Linked DNA regions of Homo sapiens: region 1 is linked to region 2. Evidence: promoter capture Hi-C in human tissues and cell types (Jung and others, 2019). All regions are on one chromosome and are shown on one strand. The core of a region is centred on a gene start or on the middle of the fragment in contact, and the rest is flanking DNA. Distances in the headings are between cores, read along the strand shown. Region 1 overlaps RAPGEF4 (Rap guanine nucleotide exchange factor 4). Region 2 holds the start of CDCA7 (cell division cycle associated 7).

What was found. Contacts are between HindIII fragments. The study calls those that stand out against the background at their distance.
Region 1: a contact is called between a fragment that was not itself captured here and the fragment with the promoter of CDCA7 in region 2, in 1 of the 25 tissues and cell types used here (thymus).

Annotation. Positions count from the first base shown.
Region 1 is chr2:173,026,353-173,032,114 of GRCh38, forward strand. RAPGEF4 (Rap guanine nucleotide exchange factor 4) reads left to right here. Exons shown (of 31, transcript NM_007023.4): 24 at 220-345; 25 at 729-907; 26 at 3,812-3,902. Among named protein-coding and RNA genes, the nearest start is that of MAP3K20, 47 kb to the right of the region's middle. The HindIII fragment of the contact is 8,411 bases long and covers 1-5,762 here.
Region 2 is chr2:173,352,208-173,357,416 of GRCh38, forward strand. It overlaps CDCA7 (cell division cycle associated 7), which reads left to right and starts at 2,665. Exons shown (of 10, transcript NM_031942.5): 1 at 2,665-2,777. The coding sequence starts at 2,757. RefSeq lists enhancers at 1,709-2,664, 1,967-2,056 and a silencer at 2,607-2,876. The HindIII fragment of the contact is 8,581 bases long and covers 1-5,209 here.

The sequences.
Region 1 (5,762 bases), core at 2,352-4,851, 320 kb before region 2:
TTTCAGTCAGTGGAATTGATGGTAATGATGATTGGTGACTTACAGACGACACTAAAGCAACTAGCGTTGCGAGCAGAGGCATCTCTCCTCAGAGTTTCCAGATATTCCTGAAAGCGTCCATCTCCAGAATCCTTTCCCCTCAGAAACTCCTGAAAGCTTTTAGTGCTAAATACTTGTCTGTGTTGAGTTTCTGATATGTTTTTGCATTATTATTCATAGACTCCCTTACCAGAACAGGAAGGCCCAACTGTTGGAACAGTGGGAACTTTTGAACTGATGAGCTCCAAAGATTTAGCATACCAGATGACAATTTATGATTGGGAACTCTTCAACTGCGTGCATGAGGTAAGATGCAGGATCAGATGTGTTAGTAGCTGAGATAGCAAGGATAAAGGCTGCTGGCATTGCTTAGTTTGTAAGTGCTAATATGTGCTACAATATGGAAACCACATGACCATTTTTTTGCATACTGAGCTTATAAATAAAGCATGCTATAAAGCCTTTGAGTATTAAAGAAAAATCTTTACAGTATGCCGTGTCTTCCTGTGTATATTAAGCCAGTAAAACCTAGTTTATATTTATATATTTAACAAACCTCATGGAAGCCCTTCAAGTCTGATTGACTTCACATTTGCTGACCAGTAAAACACTGTCTTGACAAATAGAGAAACCTGCTGGTGTTTTGATTTAAAAAAAAATAAGCAAAATTGTTTTCCTTTATTTTCTAGCTGGAGCTAATCTATCACACATTTGGAAGGCATAATTTTAAAAAGACCACAGCAAACTTGGATTTGTTCCTGAGGAGATTTAATGAAATTCAGTTTTGGGTCGTCACTGAGATCTGCCTTTGTTCTCAGCTCAGCAAGCGTGTTCAGCTATTAAAAAAATTTATTAAGATAGCAGCCCAGTAAGTATATTTAGCTTGGAAAGAGAAAAAAAAATGTTGAGCTGTGTTTTCATTTTGTTTTCTTAGACTACACCTTAAAAAGAAAAGCAGGATCTAGGAACTGCTAGAGGGCCAAACACAGGGTCTTAGGAATAACCAAACTCTTGTAATGGATCTCTCCTATATTTTGTAGCATTTAACATCAATAGATAAATTAACTTCTTTACAGCACTGATGCTGGAGTCGAAGTTGTGACCTCTCTTTGCTCTTTGCTTTCTACTCAGACGGTTTTGCCTCCTTTAGTTTAAAATTCCTTCCGTAAACCAAGTTCCCTTATACTTCGAAAGTTCAGTTGAAAAGATCTTGAAGTCAATGTCCAGCATGACACATTCTCACCAGTAGAGGGCAGTGCAGCATGCATGTACAGCAGCACATCCAGCCCAGACAGAATTAAATCGGTAAAATGCATGCGAGCTAACCTGGTACATGAAAATCATCACTACAAACATCAGAAAAAGAAGCATCTATCTTATAAATATTCTATTAAACAGCACTTCATGGGAAACAATTTTTTTACTACAGGGGCCAGTTAGAGTTCTCCCTGACATGAATTTAATCTTCTCCTGCTATTTAGATATGCCTGACAACCTCCTGTTTACTTCCATGTTTTTGGTATCACCACAGTGCTAAAAATAAAATGCTAAATGTGGCCTATGGCTGTGAGACTTCTTTCCTTTCTAAATGCAGGGAGCTCTAGCACACAGGAAGGCTGAGAGCACAAGTGACCCCAGCTAGACAATTTTCTTGACCCAAAATCAAACATGGAGTTTGATTTCCTGGGCTAAACAAAGAAGTAAAGGCTGCTTGACATTTTATAGATATCAGTTTGCCAGATGCCTGGAATTATTTGCCAACAACTTGAGGGTTCAATAGAATACCAAATCCCTTGGATTCAAAAGCTGCTATCTGTTAATATGGCAAAGCTGGCTATTTTAAGAAAGGCTTGGTAAAATGGTGCCTGTGAATTTCTGGTTCAGAGTATAGCCACTTCCCTGGTAGTCTGCACAGCCTTATGGCAAGGGACAAATGCCTTCACATATTTGGAATGAGCTGATTATGGAAACTATGACAAGATGTGCTTTCCCGTTAGAAGAAGCACACTCTCTCTCTTCACCTTAGCCTGGCAGTGCCCAATGCAACAAGAAGAGAGAGGCAATCTGCACACAAATGTGGGAAGCCAGAAAATCTTTTGGGGCCTGATCCTGTTATTTTACAGAGGCAACATGGGAGAGCCTTTCAGAACACCCAGGACTTTTTTTTATATATATATATTTTTGCTTTTCTTATCCCTCTCCCTTCTGTTTAGGTGAATGAGTAGGTGGACTTGGCCTTCAGTATAAATTAGTTTATGTTATTTAACCATTATTAAGCCCTGTGCTACATTTGCCGTCCTGTAGAGAAGCTATTTACACAGCCCAGCTGAAGAAGACTGTAGACTTTTTAAATCCGAGATCTACAAGAATGAGGTTGAAACCTCGTGACAGTAGCATCTGTTTTACTTTATATTTTTAGAGAACTTCAACATATTTGTTTTAAGCTCTTTGCCTGCCCAGAACTGTGTGAAGTTGGTGGAAGCAGATGTTCTTATTCCTCTGTTTACATTCGTGGAGGCATAGAGAAATTTCATGACTTACATAGGGTAATAAAGTTAGCTGATAACAAGGCAGTGACTAGAAAGGCAGGTCTACAGCCCTGCATTTGTTCTTTCAAGATCACATAAAGGACAGAGGCAAACACATAGATGCGATTGTATACCTGCCTTTAGCCCCAGGTGTCTTCTAAATAACCTTCAGCTCCTGAACTCAGACCCATTGTCCCAGCACACCAAAGGCCTCACTTGCTTTCTCACCAGTGGGACCATACACACTAGCTTCTCTGAAATATGTTCTCCATCTCCACACAGACAATTTAAGAATTACTCTTTGCTACCTTTGCAATGGGTAGCAAATGCAACAATTTAGTCTTTTTCAAAAATGTTAATCCAAACAGGATTTCATTATGATATGGTCAATTTCGATAACCATATTGATTCAGGATGAAGGATTTATGCGTATTGCAAAATGAATTCTTTCCCTTTTCAGGGACCTGGTATGAAGAAGTTTGGGGTTTCTCTTTCTAAAAAATGGTTAAACCAAGTACCTGTGTTAAACATCACCATTCTAATAAGAATTTCTGTTTTTTTCCACATGTCTCATTCCCAAACATATATTCATAAAAGCTAATAATGGCGTAAGTACAGATTCAAAATGATCAGCTTCATTGATGTCAGTAAAACACAGAGAAGGTTATTTCTTGGTCAGTTGTTTAGGTTACTTCTCAGCTTTAAAATTCCTTGAGATTGAGTGCCCAGCCTATAGAGATCACACCTTATAAGTTGATATTTTTCAACAAACAAGTAGCATTTGCATGGCAGGTAGAAGCCATGGTGGCTGCAGCTGTGAGACTCCCTTAGTGCCCTCTCAAGCTGCCAGAGGAGGATATCCACCTTCAGGCTAAAGGTCTAGAAATCTCCAAGGGCACTTCACTTTTTTTCTTACCCCATGAGATATTTCCCTCTCGGTCCAACAAGGCTTTTAGCAAGTTTGGGATTATAATAACAACCCCTAAGGTAGGTGTCTTTAAGTTCCTTCTCAGATCCCAAACCTCAATGGCTAACGTCTTCAACTTTCTAAAAACACAGTGAGAAATCAAACAGCAGAACATGGTCACCCAAGTGGAACTTTTACAGTACATTAAATCTATCATTGCCTGTTCTCATAAATGAGCCCTGACAAATATTAATGACTATCAGAAAATAGAACTCTAATTTTTTTTATCTCACACAGAAGTAACATTTTACTCAAACACGCATCTCCTGTGTTTCAGCTGTAAGGAGTATAAAAATCTGAATTCCTTTTTTGCCATCGTCATGGGACTAAGTAACGTTGCTGTGAGCCGCTTGGCACTAACGTGGGAGGTAAGCTTCAGCTAGGATCCAGCTGTGACTTTTGCCTTAGGAATAAAAACACAGGCTCACCAGTGAGCTTTTTAATAGAAATATCACTCACACTAGTATAACAATGGGAAAGGTGGGACACTTGGAGGGAGGTGACCTGTCTCCTTTTTCCAGTTGCCTCAGAGGGAGAATTTTTAAAAGATATTGTCCTTTTGTGTATGGAGAGTGGGGGAGATGAGGAGATGTCTACTTCTTGATATATGCAATGTAAATAAAAATAAGTCCAGTTCCTAAGTATAACATGAAGGACCCACATTGCTGGGAATGACTTCATAAGTTTGCTCATAGATTGTATTGTTTTCTGAAATGTCTGCTTGTTGCTTTTGCCATAAATCTTATCTTTAATTGAAAGAGGACAGAAGATCCATTTTTATCCAAGTACTCATTTTGCTTCTGGAAGGAAGAGCCAGGAAGCCAACTGTTTGCAGCAGTTGAGTACTAAGTGTCGCCTCACCACCTGGCAGACTTCTCTCCACGGAGAGGAACAACAGTTGGCTAATATTCAGTTTGGGGCAAAAGTGAGGCAGGTGTGTTGTGAGTCTCTGTAGCAAATATAATGAATGGTTTGTCGAGAGTTGGGTATTCAAGCTAGAAAACATCTTCATTTATTATTAGCTTTGTACTCAAAATGTGCTTGACCTCTTACACGTGGCATATAGTTGAAGAAATACTAATCTCTAATAGAACATACATACAGAAATAGACTCATGCTAAAAATAAAAAATTGTGTGTAAGTGGGACACAGAAAGAGGGCAAGGAGTATGTATTAGAGACCCAACTTGCAATGGTGCTTAAAGGCAGCTGTTTGCATCTCTAAATGCTTTTCTGAAATTATTTTCTTCCCCATGTCCTTCTTGCAATGATTTTCTTTTTCCGTCCCTCCTAAATGTTTCCATTGTTTGTAGGGCAGGTCCTCACAAGTCCTTCTGTCTTGGGTTTCTCTTAAAATTCCAGGCAGATGCAGCACACAGCAGCTCATCCCCTGAATATAGGAATGAGGGAATTGGTGAGGCCTGCGTGCCATGCAGCTATATCATCTTCCAGCTAGTAAAAGGACGGAGCTCGTGCTGCCAAGAGATCTAAGCACAAAGCCATAATGCAACTCCCTCGTCTTATAGTCCAAGGCTCTTGGGATTGCTGGAGACCTAGGGTCCTCCTGCAAAGAGTCTGCCTTCCCCAGTCAGCTACCAGCTTCTAATCCCCCTGCCACAGAGTCCAAATTAGTTGGTTGGGGACATTTTAAAAAACCATAAAGCCTCAAAGGGTCCAAGGAGGCCAGGTGTGGGTACCACAGATCAGCCAGACAATAAGAACAGAGCATGTGGGAAACACTCTCTGAACCCTCTTTCCCAGTCTAAATAAAAAAGTAGGAGGCTGCTGAAGAGGGTGCAGGCAGCAAAAGGAGATAGCTAACTGGCCAGTCCTTTGGTTTCACTAGGGATGGGAGTTCTGTGAGTCTATGAGCTTCTGTTTTCAGCACTGAATGTTGCTGAAAAGAGGAAATTATCCTTTCATCATTTATAAGCCTTTGTTTTTTAAGGTGAAGTATAATTATATAATTCTGTATGGGAGATTTCATTCCTAAGCACCTTTGATTCTAGTTTATGTACCTGCACTTGCCGAGAAAACCTCCCAAAAGCCTCCCATGCAACTCCATTGAGCACCACAGTGACCACAAGAGCAGTGTGAGAAATGCTGCCTGGCCTCATGGAACTAGGGGACACGTGTGGAACAGCCACGGAATAAAATAGAAAGGAAAGCCAGAGCACACAATAAAGGGAAGGGTTCAAAACTGAGGGGGAAGATCAAGCTGAGATGAAG
Region 2 (5,209 bases), core at 1,415-3,914:
CTTTCAACATGCCTTCCTCACTAAGTGTAATCATTTCTAGCTTTTGATTTAAAGTGAGAGATATGTGACTCTTCTTTTCATTTCAATACTCAGAGACCATTGTGGAGTTATTAACTGGCCTAATTTCAATATTGTTCTATCTCAGTGAATAGGGGGGCATGAGGATAGAGAGACAGGATGGTTGGTCAGTGGAGCAATCAGAACACATACAACATTTATTGATGAAGTCTGCCATCTTATATGGGTACAATTTGTGACTCTCCAAAATTATTACAACAGTAATAGCAAAGATCAGATTGCAGATCACCATTATGGATATAAAAATAATGAAAAAGGTGAAATATTGCAAGAATTACCAAAACGTTACACAGAGACACTAAATGAACATGCGCTTTTGGAAAAATGGCACTGATAAGCTTGCTATACTTAGGGTTGCCACAAACCTTTAATTTTAAGCATAGTGCAATAAAATGAGGTACGCCTCTATTCCCAAATTGCTCTGCAAAGTTAAAAATTTACACTACTAACATCATTGTGGGAGTTTCTCATATTCTTAACAATATCTGGTCTTATCAGGCGCTTTAAATTTTGCCAGTCTGAGTGAAATTGTATCTCCTGTGTCAGAGGCATTTGAACTACAGCAACTCCATCTTGAATAGGAGCTGGGCAAAATAAGCCTTGAGACCTGCTGGGCTGCATTCCCAGGAGGTTAAGGCATTCTATGTTACAGGAAGAGGTAGGAGGTCAGCACACGACACAGGTCATAAAGACCTTGCTGATAAAACAGGCTGCAGTAAAGAAGCCAGCCAAAACCAAGATGGCGAGGAGAGTGACCTCTGGTTGTCTTCACTGCTACACTCCCACCAGCGCCATGACAGTTTACAAATGCCATGGCAACATCAGGAAGCTACCCTATATGGCCTAAAAAGGGGAGCCATGAATAATCCACCCCTTGTTTAGCATACAATCAAGAAATAACCATAAAAATGGGCAACCAGCAGCCCTCGGGCTGCTCTATCTACGGTGTAGCCATTCTTTTATTCCTTTACTTTCTTAATAAACTTGCTTTTTCACTTTACGGACTTGCCCTGAATTCTTTCTTGTGCAAGATCCAAGAACCCTCTCTTGGGGTCTAGATCGGGACCCCTTTCCAGTGACACTTGTTTTAATTTGCATTTTCCTGATTACTAAAAAGACGAATAGACCAGAGATCTTATCCTTAAAAAACACATACACCAAATTATTTTCTTGTGCTCCCAGGAAGACTAAAAATTTCCCTATCAGAACCTTTCACAGGCAAAGTGACTTAATCTTCCCCTGCTTCATGGATCTAGTAATTCCAAATTTTCATATATTTAGCTTTAGTGGCACAAAATTATATTCCCAAATGTTTATTCATTCAACAAATACTTACTGAGGGCCCTGTAATTCCGTAATTTCACCACCCACCGATAGCCTCTCCTCCTGGCACTCACCTTCTAGACCTTGAGCTCTTTGTCCCTTGCACAGTGGCAGAGTGATTACTGGGTAGGTATATTTAAGAAAGGCTGGAAGACTCCTTCCAATCCATTGTCCTCGGGCATTATTTACTTGCTCACAGTTTTTGTATTCAGTACACCAAGAGAGGAACACAGTATGTCCATGCACTCTCTTACTGCAAAGGAATTAATTATTCCCCAGAGAAAAGTTTTGAAATGAGGGGGAAATGCGAATGTTTTCATTTCAAGCGCTTGTTTTAAATGTTAAGAGTATAATTAGTGTCTTCTAAAGAAACTAAATTTACTTTTTCTTGTAGAAGCAAGTTTTGCTCTTCACGCACACAAAAAGCCTCGCTTTATTTCATTTTTTCGTTGTAATGCCAAGTTTGGTTAAAAGGGCAATGAAAAGTTTTCTCGTTCGCACTGACTCAGGGTAGTTCTCAATTCTGAAGACAGAGAAGATCATCAAGCCACAATTGTTCAATCTTTAGTTTCAATCCCCAACAGATAATCGTTAAAGGTTAACTATACTATAGACGTCTTCATCAAGCTGCTGCGGCTTTTCTTCTACTTTGAAAACCACAAGTAAACAAGTCGGCTTCCTGTGCTTTTTGGAAAGAAAGATCAGGATTTAACTCATTTTATTGCTTCAGATAATGGTGTGGTTCCCAGATAAGAGGTGCTACATCCAGGGGCGGTGAACTCGATTATGAAGGGTGGAGTTCGTGCTGGATTCTATGATTTTTTAAATCTTGTAAACCGCACGCAGCAATGAAAGTGCTAAACGCCATGGTGCGTGACCCGCGCCACCCTCACGCTGCTCTCCTTTACCCCCCAGACTCCACTTTTCCTCCGCCACCACGAAAATTCTTGCAAATCAGACAGCTAACCCCGGGGCAATACGAACCATTTTCGCGCCACTCGCTCAGGACCGCGCAGCTGCACAAGGAGAGTGGTCCCCGTAGCCCCTAAAGCCCCCCTTTCTCAAAGGGGATTTTAGGAGTGCCCAAGGCTATCCTTTGAGGTCAGAATATATAGGGGGGTCGTGTTTTTTCCAGGGGGCCACCTAGTCTTGCGCCATGTCTGGCCGTTACCACAGCTTGCAGGACCTGTGTCCCAACGCGGGAAAGACAGCCCGAGCCCCGCCCCTCCGGGCCCGGGTCGGCGCGCCCAGCCTGCCAGCCGCGCTGCTGCTGCTCCTCCTGCTGTGGGACCGCTGACCGCGCGGCTGCTCCGCTCTCCCCGCTCCAAGCGCCGATCTGGGCACCCGCCACCAGCATGGACGCTCGCCGCGTGCCGGTGAGGGCTGGGCGGGCGAACCCGAGGGGCGGGCGCGGTGGGTGCTGGACGCAGGCGGGCGCGGGCCGACCCTCTCCAACTCCGCAGCCTAGCGCTGCCTTAACTGGTGGCCTGCCTAGGCGTTGCCCGCTTGGGCAAGCCCCTGATTTTGTGCACCTGGGATAACTGAGGGCCATGGGGACGTTCCTGCGTGGCGTGCGCACCCGAAGTGCGGGCGGCGTGGAGACTTGAGTCGTTTGCAGGATGGCTAGCAGCGCTGGAAAGCCCTAGGCACGTGCGTCCGCCAAAGGCCGGACAGCGGCCGGGAGCGCTGGCCGGTCCCGATTTTGCCTGCCAGGCAGAGCCAGCCTGCCTGCCCCCTGGGAGGTTGTCCCGCAGCGGCCCAGCCCTTTCCCGCACACAACTCGGAGCCAGTGCGTGGCTCGCCGCGTCTATACCCGCGCTCAGTGGGTGGCCCTTGGGCGCGCACCCCGCCCGGCAAGAGACGCGTCCGCTTCTAACCGCTGAGGGCCAGCGCGTCTGAGGTTTAAGGTCTTGCGAACCGGTCTCCTAGAACTTGGGCTGCGCACGCAGTGTGAAGCGACCGTAGTCCCGGGCGGTGGTTAAGTGCATTTAAAGGGCTTGGTGGGTCAAAGCGTTCGCCGACCATTTGCTCGTTTCCTACTTCCTCCACCCCAACCCCCAACCCCCCACCCCCCACCCCCCAGCCTTACTCTTAGCTGCAGGACGTTGCTCTGAGTGGAACGTTACTTTTTGCTCTAACGGAAGCCAGAACGTAGGGTCGGGCTCCTGGAGAGGGTAGAAGAGTGGGGGTTGGGTGAAACGGAAGACAATGACATGTTTAAAATAAATATCAGGGGTTAGGGACCCTCGCGGGGGTGGGTGCGATGGGGCGTGGTTTCAGAGCTGAGTCGCCGCCCCGGTGGAGCTGGGCATTGGCTTTCCGGATGAAGAAAACCATGTGTAGCTGGTCTTGGAACCTGACATGCCTGAGTTCAAATCTGAGCCACCATGGGACTTGAGTAATCCATTTCGCTTTCCTGAGCCTCAGTTTCCTCATTGGCTAAGTGAGAATAACGATAGCACCTTTGTTGCAAAGAATTAAACCTGACGTGAAAGTGTACTTAACATAGTGCCTGGCACGAAAAACGCCTACTATAAATGGTATTAGTTATTACTTACCTGCCAAAGAAGTTCATCTCCGTCTTGACTATTTGCCTTGCTGCTTTTTTGTGGCTTTTCCTCCAAAGATACGTTTGCCTGGTAAATAACTCTTGGCTTGTGCTGACTTGTTAAAGCTCAGCCTGTATTTCTCGGACAGCTTCCAATAGAATGCCGCCTTTGAGGCTGTCTGGGGCCTCTGACTGCTTGCAGGTAGATTGATGAGTAAAGGGTGGTAATTCCTGCAGTAATGCGATGAACACTGCTGCTTAAGAAGATGGCAGACTTGAGTTCTCCTTCCTGCCCCTGTGATCTTGCAGTCTATTACACCTTCCTGGGGCCTTGAATATCCTCATCTGGAAAATGGGATCTGAGATCCTTTTCAGCTCCCAACATTCATTGTGTCCCAGGCTGGAGTGCAGTGGCACAGTCACGGCTCACTGCAGCCTACCGGGCTCAAGCAGTCTTCCCACCTCAGCCTCCCAAGTAACTGGGATTACATGTACGCACCGCCACATCCGGCTGATTTTTGTGTTTTTAGTAGAGACGGGGTTTCACCATATTCCCCACGCTGGTCTCGAACTCGTGGGCTCAAGTGATCCTCCCACCTTGGCTTCCCAAAGCGCTGAGATTACAGGTGTGAGCCACCCCCCTACACATACACCTAACCTTTATATTTAGTAGCTCTACCTTTTACACGTTGTCCTGCCTTGTTAAGAGGGCAAAAGACAAAAACTTCCTAAGATGATTGAACGGAGTTTACTTAGGGGTATAGGGATGTTGGGAGTGCCATCATCATGAAAATAACTTTATCTGCAAGAGACTGAAATGCGTAATGTTAGGCCAAGAAGGAGGGCAAGAATGTTCTGGTCACCTGACATCTTACATCTTAGCATATTTTGTAGAATCTATACCAGAGCTTGCCCTTTCAAAGTTTTCAGTGTAAGGAATCACTTCTGCTATTCCATGGCCCCATTTAAGGAATAAAAACACAGGACCTAATGCAACACTTAGGAAATCTCGTTAAATATTAAGAAATGACAAACCACTATCCTTTTTTTATACAAGATAGATGCCAATTACATTTTCTGAGAGCAGTGCCAGGCTGTTCAGTATTTATGAATGAATGAAGCATTTCTATGTAAGTAATTTGCACTTTATAAAAGGACTTTTAAAAACTTAAGTCTTGTATAGCAAAGGGACAGCAACAAGAACTGAATGACAGCCTCAAGTAATAGAGTGCTAAAATGGAATCCGGTATCCCACCTGCA